Regions from separate parts of the Homo sapiens genome. Here region 1 is linked to region 2. Evidence: promoter capture Hi-C in human tissues and cell types (Jung and others, 2019). All regions are on one chromosome and are shown on one strand. Each heading gives the region's core, a stretch centred on a gene start or on the middle of the fragment in contact. The rest is flanking DNA. Distances are from core to core; before and after follow the strand shown. Region 1 has its middle 7.6 kb from the start of NTRK2. Region 2 holds the start of AGTPBP1 (ATP/GTP binding carboxypeptidase 1).

Evidence for each region. The method cuts DNA at HindIII sites, captures the fragments that hold promoters and counts their contacts. A contact is called where the count stands out against the background at its distance.
Region 1: a contact is called between a fragment that was not itself captured here and the fragment with the promoter of AGTPBP1 in region 2, in 1 of the 25 tissues and cell types used here (dorsolateral prefrontal cortex).

What each region holds. Positions count from the first base shown.
Region 1 is chr9:84,659,108-84,665,098 of GRCh38, reverse strand. No RefSeq gene overlaps it. Among named protein-coding and RNA genes, the nearest start is that of NTRK2, 7.6 kb to the left of the region's middle. The HindIII fragment of the contact is 3,178 bases long and covers 2,003-5,180 here.
Region 2 is chr9:85,737,417-85,743,998 of GRCh38, reverse strand. AGTPBP1 (ATP/GTP binding carboxypeptidase 1) reads left to right here and starts at 2,045. Exons shown (of 26, transcript NM_001330701.2): 1 at 2,045-2,224. RefSeq lists silencers at 1,722-2,321, 2,392-2,711 and an enhancer at 2,882-3,031. The HindIII fragment of the contact is 2,695 bases long and covers 891-3,585 here.

The DNA of each region.
Region 1 (5,991 bases), core at 2,342-4,841, 1.1 Mb after region 2:
AAATAAAAGGTATTCAGATTGGAAAAGAAGAATTAGACTGTTCTTTTTTAAAACATACAACGTTGAGTCCTGTATAGAAAATTTAATAGAATCTATGAAAAAGCTACTTATACTAATAAATGAATTATCAAGTTTGCATAATACAAGATAACTATTTACAAATCAGATATATTTCTATATACTAGCAACAATCATGAATTAATTTTTTAAAAACTACAAATTACAATAGCCAATCAAAAATACAAAATACTTAGAATTAAAGCACAGCCCATAAATAGAAAAACATAGATACATTGGATTTTATAAAGATTAACAATTTCTGCTTTTCAACAGATACCACTAATAGAATGAAAAAAAATGCCACAAAATGTAAGAAATATCTGAACATTTGATAAAGTCATATCAGAGTATATAAAGAACTCTCAAAACTGAATAATAATAAACAACATTTTAAAAGTGTGTAAATGTGTTGAACATATACTTTACCAAAGAAAATATGCAGTTGGCATGTAAGCACATGAAAAGATGCTCAACAGCATTAGTCATTGAGGAAATGCAAATTAAAACCACAATGAGATAGCTACACACTAATTGGAATGGCTAAAAATTTATTTATTTATTTATTTATTTAATTTATTTTTGAGATGGAGTCTCACTCTTTTGCCCAGGCCCGAGTGCAGTGGGGCAATCTCGGCTCACTGCAAGCTCCGCCTCCTGGGTTCACACCATTCTCCTGCCTCAGCCTCCCACGTAGCTGGGACTACAGGCATCCGCCACCGCACCCGGGCTAATTTTTTGTATTTTTAGTAAAGACCGGGTTTCACCGTGTTAGCCAGGATGGTCTCAATCTGCTGACCTCGTGATCCACCCATGGAATGGCTACAATTTTTAAAAACTGACCATACCAAGTGTTGACCAGAATGTGGAGCAACTGGAACTCTCATACACTGCTACTGGGAGTGTAAAATTGTATGGCCACTTTGGAAATGCAGAAGTTTCTTCAAAAGTTAAACGTATACTTACCAGGTGATCCAACCATTCTACTTCTATATACTTACCTAAAAGAAAGGAAAGCATATGTCCATACAAAGACTTGAACGTGAGTGTTCATAGCAGCTTTATCTTTATATGTAAAAACTGTAATAATCCAAATATTCATTGACAGGCGAATGAATACACAGATTGTGGCATACCCATACAACAGAATGCTACTCAGCAATGAAAAGAAATGAACAAAGCTTGCAGTCATATGCATGAATCTCAAAATAATTATGCTAAGTGAAAACATCAGATAAAAAGGAGTACATACTGTATGGGATCATAAAACTCAAGAAAATGCAACAAAAATGCAAAAAAAAAGTGCAAACAAATAGATTGTGACAGAAAATAACTCAGTGACTGCTGGCGAGGAAAGAGAGAAGTAGGCAGGGAGGAGCCAGAGGGAGCAATGACAAAGGACACAAGGAAACTTTATGATGATGGATGGATTGTGGTGATGGTTTCGATCTGATCAACTTATTAAATGTTTAGCTTATTAGCAATTATACCTCCATAAAGTTGTTTCTAAAAACAAAAGAGAAATGCTGACCTAGATCCTCCAATCATCAACTTCTTGTTCTGCTGGAGTTCCTTTAGAACCTCCAATTTTAGAATGCTATTATAAAGTTTGGAGATTTTTAAATAAACTCAGATTCTGTAATGTTCTAGTTTTAGAAGTACCTACTCTGTAATTTCTTTTACACTTTGAAAAAGTCTGGGGAAACCATAATTTAATAAATAGAAGACACAGTGGCCCATACCTAAAAATAGGACCTGAATGTCCATTAATAGTGGAACAAGTCAATAAATTATAATACAGTCACGTGTCCCATTATGATGCTTCCATCGACAATAGACTACATATACCATGGTGGGCCCATAAGATTATAATGGAGCTGAAAATTTTCTATCTTCTAGTGACATTGTAGCCATTTTAATATTGTAGTGCAAGGGATTACTCACCTGTTTGTGGTTAACATTGGAGTAAACAAACTTACTACACTGTCATTTGTATAAAAGTATAGTGTGTAAAATTATGTATAGTACATCTATAATTGTTGATAATGATAATAAATGACTATGTTACTGGTTTATGTATTTACTATACTTTAGCTTTTGTTGTTACTTTATAGTGTACTCCTTCTAATTTTTTTTGTTGTTTGTTTATTTGTTTGTTTTTTGAGACCGAGTCTCACTCTGTTGCCCAGGCTGGAGTGCAGTGGCCCATCTCAGCTCACTGCAACCTCCGCCTCCCGGGTTCAAGCGATTCCTCTGCCTCAGCCTCCCGAATAGCTGGGATTACAGGTGCGTGCTACCACACCTGGCTAATTTTTTGCATTTTAGTAGAGATGGGGTTTCACCGTGTTAGCCAGGATGGTCTTGATCTCCTGATCTCATGATCTGCCTGCCTCGGCCTCCCAAAGTGCTGGGATTATAGGTGTGAGCCACCATGTTTAGTGCCTTCTACTTACTAAAAAAAGAAGTCAACTGTAAAACCGCCTCAGGCAGATCCTTCAGGAAGTATTCCAGCAGAAAGCATTATCATCATCAGAGATGACATGAATGTTATTGCCCCTGAAGATCTTCCAGTGGGACAAGATGTGGAGTGGAAGACAGTGATATTGATGATCCTGACCCTCTCTAGGCTGAGGCTAATGTAGATGTTTGTGTGTTCGTTTTTAACAAAAAAGGTTTAAAAAATGATACATTTTAAAAATAGAAAAAAGCTTACAGAATAAGAATATAAAGAAAGCAAATATTTTTGTATAGCTGTACAAAAATGTATTTGTGTTTTAATCTAAGTGTTATTACAAAAGAGTCAAAAAGTTAAAAAATTAGAAAATGTATAAAGTAAAACAGAGGAAGCTAAGGTTAATATATTATTGTAGGAAAATGTTTTGTAAATGTAATGTAGCCTAAGTGTACAGTGTTTATAGGGTCTATAGTGGTGCACAGTAATGTCTTAGGCCCTCATATCCATTCACCACTCACTCACTGACTCACCCAGAACAACTTCCAGTCCTGCAAGCTCCATTCATGGTAAATGCCCTTTACAGGAGTACCATTTTTTATTTTTATACTCTCTTTTTACCGCACCTTTTCTGTGCTTAGATACGCACAATTGTGCCATAATTACTTATTATATTCAGTACAGCAACGTAGTGTACAGGTTTGTATCCTGGAAACAATAGGCCATAATGTATACTTGAGGTGTATAGTAGACTCTACCACCTAAGTTTGTGTAAGTGTACTCTGTGATGTTCACACAACGACAAAATCACCTGACATCTTTCTCAGAATGTGTCTCCATCATTAAGTGAATACAGATCTGTACTTCTATTCTTTACATCAGTACATGCCTAATTAAAGATGAGTTTTATAGGGCCGGGTGTGGTGGCTCATGCCTGTAGTCCCAGCACCTTGGGAGGCTGAGGCAGGCAGACCACGAGGTCAGGAGTTTGAGACCAGTCTGGCCAGCATGGAGAAACCCCGTCTCTACTAAAAATATATAATTAGCTGGGGATGGTGGCAGGCACCTGTAATCCCAGCTGCTCAGGAAGCTGAGGCAGGAGAATCGCTTGAAACCAGAAGGCAGAGGTTGCAGTGAGCCGAGATCGCACCACTGTACTCCAGCCTGGGCAACAAGAGCAAAACTCAGTCTCAAAAAAAAAAAAAAAAGAAAAAAAGAGTTTCATATAGATTGACTTGGAGGCATATCCACAATATATTAATAATGCATCTCACATGACAATATGTAGTCTGAGCCTACAAAGAAAGCCAGTATTTGTGAATATGTTTTGTTTGACTATGGAGAAAAACAGAGAAGTATTTACACCAAATCACGACATTAGTAACTTAGAGGAAATAGAGAGGTAGTTTGAGGTAAGAGGAGAAAAGACCAGGAAACCTGTGAATACTTATTTGGAACTTACAGCCTCCTTACCCATACCATGCCTAATTTTCCTCTTTGCGTTGCCTCTTCCCCTTTAGATCCGGTGTTATCCTATTTCTAGAGTCCTTCCCGTCAGTGGAAGGAACAGAATCTACAAGCATGTTCACAATCCAAATAATGTTCATCATCAGACACTTCATTTTCCCAAGAATGTCTGTATTTTAGTGGAGGACACTGGGAAAAAGATGTAATCCAAAGGAATTTCAGGTACCATGGCAACCATAAAAGAGGGAGTATTTGAGCATGGAGGACTCAACACAGGTCACATGGAACCAAAGGCTGATATTCATGATTAGCACCACACTTGCTCCCTGTCACCCCAACATCCTCTTTTGAAGTTTATACAGTTTCCTACTGTTTTCTACCTAACATCCTCCAACTCTGAGTAAAGGTCTCACTTTTCCCCACCTCTGCCTAAGATGGTCTGTGAACTGTATGCTACCTGGTCACTCTGAACCACAGCCAAACCCAAGGTTTCATCCCACTTCCTTTCTTCTCTGTGTCCAAATCTTCCACTTTTGTACTTTTAGTCATACACAGCACATACTAAGTCAACACAGACTTATAAAGTTTTTATGAACACCTAAAAGGAAGAGCATATGGAGAAAATTCAACAGAGCCTCAGAAAACTGGAGTCACGGGCATGTGGGTGATCCTTAAATCTAAGTTGCAGGCCATCCATCTGACGAGGTTTCGTGGTCAGCTCCGGATTATTTTCTTAGTTCATGTTGGTAGTCTAGGTCAATACCCATACCTGCTCCCGTGTTGTCCTGTTTTGTCAAGGTTTAACTATTATGGCTTAATCAATTACTTAATCCTGTTAATTGTCCCACAACCCCAGTGTCCATTCTCCCATTCTTCTCTTGAGTAATAGAACACTTGATCGCACCCAGTCAACAACTATATTTCCCAACTTCTTTTGAAGTAAAGGTGTGGCCATTTGACTAAGTTTTTACCAGAGAATTTAAGTGGAGGTGATGTGTACAATTTCAATATTATTTCTTTAGAAGAAAGTTATTTCTTTCCATTTCTTCTTGTCTTTCCTTTCTGCAGACTGGGAAGTCTATTACAGTACCACATCACAAAAGAACTTCAGTTGTTACAAAGAAGTTTACTTATGCTTCAATGAACAAGTATAGTATGATGTTTCAGTGCTACTCTGCCCATATTTATTGTGACAGTCAAGTGTTCCCAGTTCAACGCAATTGACAATCACAGTTCATGCAAAGAACAGTTTTATGGCCATGCACTTTTTAACTACATGGTGCCATGTACTTAAAGACCCACAAGCACTATATTATATCAGACCTCTGCAGGTGATTAACCAAATTGTTGCAGTCAAGCCCCAAATTGGGAATTAGCCCAGAAAAGTTCTGGGTTTCACTCATGAAAGAATTCAAGAACGAGTTGGTGGTAGAAGAAAACAGCTTTATTGAGGTGGCAATGTTACAGCTCCATGACTGCTCCTGCAGAGCAGGGTTACCCCAAAGGCAGCCTGTTAGAGAGTAACAGCTCAGGGGCGGGTCTACAATAATATATATACTCACTGTAATTACATGCAAATTAAGGGGCAGATTATGCAGACATTTCTAACAAAGAGTGGTAACTTCTGGGTCGGCAGGTCGTTGCTATGGAAATGAGTGTTAACATCTGAGTGTTGCCATGACAATGATAAACTGACATGGCATTGGTGGGTGTGTCTTATGGAGAGGCTCTTTGGCCTCTTCCCTATTTCAGCTAGTACTCAATCTCACCTGAAGTTCGAATCCTTACCTCTGGAGCCAAGTTCCACCTCCTACTTCAAAATGTTCTTCCAACTGGGGTAGCAACCCATTACTAAGTCAATTTAGTGGCTTTTATTAGGATATTTCTAACGGAATAGACTAGACAATGCTAGAATAGAAAACAGCAAAGGTATAAAGGCAACATTGTTTGATGAAACTTTATTATAGGTTGTACTGGATTTTGTTGTAAATGTATTTCTTATCGTGGTTCACAGT
Region 2 (6,582 bases), core at 796-3,295:
AGCCATGATTGCACTACTGTATTACAGCCTTGGCAACAGAGTGAGAGTCTTGTCTCAAAAAAAAAAAAAAAAGAAAGAAAAAGAAAAAGAAAAAGAAAAACAACTGAGGTGTACCTTTACCTTTTGGAGGCTGAGGTTCTCGGGAGAGATGGTGTCCAACATACAGGAGATCGGTGAGGATATGCAAGGTCCCACGATGCTAGAGGGCTGTGCCAGTGTTGGTGGACAGGCTTCAAAGCTTAAAGGCTAACAGGGTGTGGCCCTGTTGCAGCCTGAGCTGGTAGCGTTCAGGGAAGTGGCTGACAGAGCACGCGATCTGCCACCCGCTGAGCTCTCAAAGTATCTTGCAAATTCTTGAGTTTATATGTATTTCGAAATCCTGTAGTTGAGGTCAGTAACATATATATGGTGTTTGATAAGGTGTAACGTCACATTAGCTAGGAGAGGTGAAGTTTATTTCAACTTCATACACGTGGGATCTGATGAAGAGTGATGTCACATTCCCAGGGGGTGGGGGAGTAGCTCTAAGTTCTTAATTACCGCAAAACATAAATCACTCACTCTTGTGGCAAACTATGTGATTGGAATCATTTCAAAGCTATGTAATGCTGCTATTTATCTTGTGTGGGTTAATCTCCTGGGTCTGTGTTGTGGTCATCAAACTATGCTAACAGTGCTTGTGAAAGTGGGATTCAAATTCCACAAACACACACATCCACATAATATCTTCCTATATTGCAGGTTGACTCATTTAGAAACATGTTCTTTAAGAAAAGTTTCAGGTATATTACATACATATTTAGCATTATTGTAAAATTATTACATTATTATTGGGTATTTTCAGATAATACGTTTCTGATTGGGTGGTTTGGGGTGGTGGTTGTTTCAAAATTATTTTAAATACCGTAACCTATCTTTTAGTGCTCACGATGAGGGAAACTACGATGTTTATAAAATGGCAGTTTCTTGTTCATCTGAATAAAGACATCTACCAAGGGCAAACTGTAAGAAGCACTGTGGTGTACCTTGGGTTACTTTTTGAATTGCTTTCACACCTGCTTAATTTTATTTGAACAAGATCATAAAACAAAACAAAAATCTCACAGTTCTCAATGCATTCCCTTATCTAGTTGTGATATTACATTCCTTACCATAAACAGTAGCAAACATGTTCTTGTGCAACGTGAAAAAGTAAATGATGTCAGTATTTATTTGCAATACATTGCAGTACACTGAAGTACAGTCAAAACAGAAGGGGGTGTATTAGTAATTTCTCTGACACATTACTTTGGCTCAGATAAAACATTCCGCCTTTGCCTTCAGTAGCCAACTTAGCATTACCGTTTTGATTATATGCAGGCACTTTTTCAAAAAACAGTAAATCAGCATGCTATTTTGTTCGCTGCAGCACTAGGCATCTAATTTACTGAGATTTGGCCACAAGGTGCAATCCTGTTGTTTTCTGGGAGCCCGATTGTAGTAACAGCATGTCCCTTCCAGCCTCTTATTATGGACCCTCCTTGAGGTCAGGAAAGGTCTAAGCTTTACCGCAGTCCCCAGCGTTTGATGCGACCCCGGGATCACGTGGGGAGCTTTAAGAACCCTTCCTAAGAAAGTGACTGATTGATGGCGGGGGAGGGGGTGGGCGCGGGCTTAGTTCCGGGAAAAGGCTGGGGCCCTCGTTGGGAGTGTACAGAAAGATGACTTGAAGAACGTGGGGAGTCGCTCGCAGTTCGGTACGGAGGGGCGGTGGCCGGGGCTGCTGGGTACAAGGGACCGGCAGCGCGCGGAACACCCGCCCCTAATTCCCGCTCCCGTGCGCGCTCCGCCCCCACGCGCGCGCTCCCTCCCGTCAGGCGCGCAGAGAGGCGGGGCGCAGCGCGCACGGAGGTAACAAGGGACGCGGCGGGAAGAGGGCGTGCGCTCCGCCCCGCCCCTTTCGCGGCCTCGCACGCCCCGCCCCCACTCCCTGCGCGTGCTGGGAGCCGGCTGGCAAGGCGTGCGGTGGGCGGGGCGCCGCGCTGACGTTGCCCGGGATGCGGACAGGTTCCGCCGCCTCCAGCGCCGCCGCCGCAGCTGCCGCCGCCGCCGCCTCCGCCTCGCCTGCCACCGGGGTTTGTATGAAAACACCGGGCGGCGGGCGGCGAGGGATCCGCCGTGATCCAGGTGCTGAGCCGGGTGCTGCGGCTCTGCGCGGTCCCCGCCAGCGCCCCATCCTGAGCCGGTGAGCGCCCTGCTGCAGTCCTCATGTCCCGGCCGGCCGTCCCTCTGCTCTCCCCGGGCCGCGGGAGATGCGAGCGACGGCGCCCGGGGGTAGGAGGGGCGACCCCGGATCCCTGCGCCCCTTACCTGACGGGTTGTGTAACGCATGTTACACATGTGACGCGTGAGGGGAACGCACTCGGTCTTGAGGGAAAGCCCTGACGGGGTGGGGCTTTGACTGGGTCTGGAAAACGCCTTCCCCAGTCCCCGGACCCTCGGTGGATCCCCGTCCCAGACCTTGCGGAGGGTATCGGGCGCGGTCTCTGGGCGGAGGCCGCCCTTTCTGCTCAGCCCTTTCTCTCGGGCCCGAGCTCGCGGCGCCGCGGGGAGTCCAGCCGAGGGGCTGCAGGGCCGGGGGCGGGCGCGCCCAGCCCCGCTCTCCCCCGCCCCAGTGGTAGCGGGCCGCTGAATCGCGGGCCCCTGTGCTTCGAGAATTCTAGCGTTCCCGACTGAGCGCCAGCAAGGTGGGATTTGCTGTGACATCGGCGATGGGCACGTTTGCTTCCTCTCGCTGGGTGGTTTGAGCTGAAGTGTGTCTTCTGTTTACAACTTGTCGCCTTGAGCGTTTGGTTTGAACCTGAATCAGATCACCCTGGATGACAGTGCAGAGTTTCCTTAGTGTCTTCCTTCCTGAATTGCGGGTTCTCAATTGCAAGTGTTCAAGGACTGTTGTAACCCAAAGGCTTGCTCGACTCTACCGTTGTTTTACCCCTTGTGCGGTATAAACCTCTTACGAGCACCAGGGCAATTGGAGTTGGTTGGGTTCCTTTCTTGGGCGTTTACTCATTGTAGAATGGAGTTTTCATGCATCATAGTGTAATCGATGTGAATGTTGATAATTTAAAGCCCATTTCCCGTTTTAACATAGCTTACTCAAGTGCCTGAAGATAGCGGAAATTTTCTTTGGCAGTATTAATTCTATGTGGGTTTTTTCCTTCAGGTGTTTAACATTGTAGTTGTGTTTAATTACAATGCATGACAATTTGTAGTTAGAAAGGACCTTAACAGTCTTCTTAATCGGTCATTTTCACTTACCTTTTATGTCCGTTTTTTAAGCTTTATGTAAATCAAATTATCCTTTGTGAACTTCTGAATTATTCTTATAAACTGGTTGTCTGAGAAAACCGGAAAGTTATTTTTGTAATTGTATTGTGGAATGTTTTTAGTTCAGTAGGCCAAAAAAGAAATGATTTATTTAAGGAACTTTAAATGGTGCTTATTTTAAAACATGTGCCAAATGTCAAAACCAAACAAAACTCTGAAAGATCTGTATTTCCTATGTAGAATTACTGCGAAATAATAAGTCGTGCCTTACCCACTGTTTCTCATCATGCAGGCAGAGTTCTAATATGACTTGCTCTTTTTCCCATTCCACTTCTCTTAAGTTAAATTCTATGGTGAAGTTACAGGTTCATTTTTAATGATCACAAAACTCTGCCTTGAATTGATTAATCACATAATTACAACTGCAGACTCACTCTGAACTCGGAAATGAAGTGGATAGGCTTAAAACTACCCTCGTATTTGGCCAACATTGCAAAGCATTTAAATCTATTAATTAAACTTTTGTAGAAGCAATTTTTATAAAGCTTTTCCGAATTGAGGCATTCTTCTCTTTAGAAAAGTCTGGCTAGGCTGCTATATAATAATGGTTTTACTTCCATTAGCAGAAGGAAAAGAGGTCCAACAGTTATGAAATTTTGTAATTTGTATTTTACTTTTTTTTTTTTTTTGAGACGGAGTCTCACTCTCTCGCCCAGGCTAGAGTGCCAGTGGTGCGATCTCGGCTCACTGCAACCTGCCCCTACCGGGTTCAAGCGATTCTCCCGCCTCAGCTTCTTGATTATAGGCGCGCGTCACCACGCCTAGCTAATTTTTGTGTTTTTAGTAGAGACGGGTTTCACCATGTTGGCCAGGCTGGTATCGAACTCCCAACCTCAGGTGATCCACTAGCCTCAGCTTCTTAAGGTGCAGGGATTACAGGCGTGAGCCACCAAGCTTGGCCTGAATTTTTTTTTTTTTTTTTTTGAGACGGAGTTTCGCTCTTGTCGCCCAGGCTGGAGTGCAGTGGCACGATCTTGGCTCACTACAGCCTCTGCCTCCCGGGTTCAAGCGATTCTCCTGCCTCAGCCTCCCGAATAGCTGGGATTACAGGAGCACACCACCACGCCCGGCTAAGTTTTTGTTTTTAGTAGAGACGGGGTTTCACCATGTTACCCAAGCTCGTCTTGAACTCCTGACCTCAGGTGGTCTGCCCACCTCGGCCTCCCAAAGTCCTGGGATTACAGGCGTCCGCCACCACGCCCGTCCTGGCCTGAATTTTTTTAAACCTCATCCAAAGTATTCATCTTCCCAAATCTGCTTTTCTTGCTTGAAGTCCCCCACTATCTGAAAGTTGAACAGTGCGTGAATAGCAATGGATGCACCTGTCAGAGGGCCATCTGCAAGATGGGAGCTTTCCTTAGGCAATGGGTTTCAGTATAAACAACATAAATTTTGTAGGGTGGGCACTGAATTTTAAACTTCAGATGTTATTGTTGATTACTGTGCCTGTGTACTATGGTGTAGTGGCTAAGGAGTTGGGCCTCAGAGCCAGATGGCTCGGTTTGGGTCCTGGCTTTGCTTTAGGCAAGTTATTTTTATTTTTATTTTTTTAAGACAAGTTATTTGTCCTTTTTGTACTTTAATTTTCTCAGCTCCAAAAATGACATAATATTAGTGTATACTCTTAAGATATTCTCAAATATTAAGTGATTAATACAAGTAAAGTGCTTAGCCCACAGTGCCTGGCATGTAGTAAGTGCCCAGTAAATATTGCTATTATTACCGTTGCTCTTCCTCAGTCTTCAAAGGGATCTAGTAAGCAGAAAAAGGACTTTTGGGGGATGGAGCAGTATTAGTGCAGATTAATTCCACTATGACCCATTTGCTCCTTTGGGGTTAAATGAGAGCTTAGTCTCACTGTCCTGCCTCCTGCCTTGGAAACATGTAAGTCAGTTTTAAATAGAACAGCTAGACCCTGAGCTGGGTGCCCTGGGATGCTACTGGAGAGCTGTTGATAAATCCGTTTGTCCCTTCTGACAGAACCTTGGATTGTCTCCCTCCTGTTGGTGATGGCTGCTATTTTAATCTTTTAATCATCTGTTTTTGAGTTTGTGATTGGGTGTTTCTTTGACTATAATGTGCCGCTATCAAAAATGTGATCTGTCAAAATATTGGTAGGTATGTACTTGTTTATTTGATCAGAATATTGTATGTTGTTTCCAGGGCACACAAAATCAATTTTTTTAAGCATTCTTTTTTATCTAAGCATTTTCTTTTTTATTGATATTATATAGTGTGAAATCAGTTTTGATTTGACATTGTGTTCATTTTCAGCTTTCATATAATTTTCCTAGGAACTTTTTTTTTCCCTCCAGTATGATTTTACATACTTGTTCTTGGTTTGCAGGGATCTAATATTAAAACTCTAAATGCTTTCAAACTTTTGGTTAGGACCCTTTTACATTGTTAAAAGTTGTTGAGGATCCCCAAAAAGCTTTTGTGAATTTATCTATGTTTACTGTATTGTAAATGAAAAGGGAAATATAAATTGTCAGTTCACTTAAAATGACAATTATAAACTCTTTACATGTTAATATAAACACCCTATTTTTAATGAAAACAACTTTTTTTTAAAACAAAAAATAAGGTAGTGAGAAAAGTGGCATTGTTTTACTTTTTTTGTAAATCTGTCTGGTTTAATGGAAACAGCTGGATTATCATATCTGCTCCTGCATCCAGTCTATTGCAATATGTTGTTTGGGTTGAAATACATATGGAGAAAATCCAGTCTCACATAGTTAATGGCTAAACAGGGTGGGGAGGCCGGGGAGGGAGCATTTTAATAGCCTTTTCCGATAATTGTGGACATTCTTGTTTGGTATTATATTAAAACTCAGTAAGTGGCAATTTCTTAAAGGTTAGATGCCGTGAGAAATCCAGTAAGTGGATTTTTGCATGCTCTAGTAAAACCCATTGGTTGGAACTTTGAATGGGTCTTATACTCATTCCTGAGATTGTAACATCATTCCTTGGTCATTTGTAAATATTGGTTCAGTGTTATGCAGATCTTCCAAATGTTGACATCTTTCATCATGCAATATTAAAGAAAGTTATGGTTGTTAATATCACCACCCATTTTGTTAGAGACAAATTATTGGGAAGCTGTTTAGGTCTTGACATGACAATGGTGGATATGAGTTTTCCAGAATTCGGATTTTTGCTTGAAAGCTCAAATTTTATCATTGGCAACAAATGTGACTTGTTTACTTAAAGTGA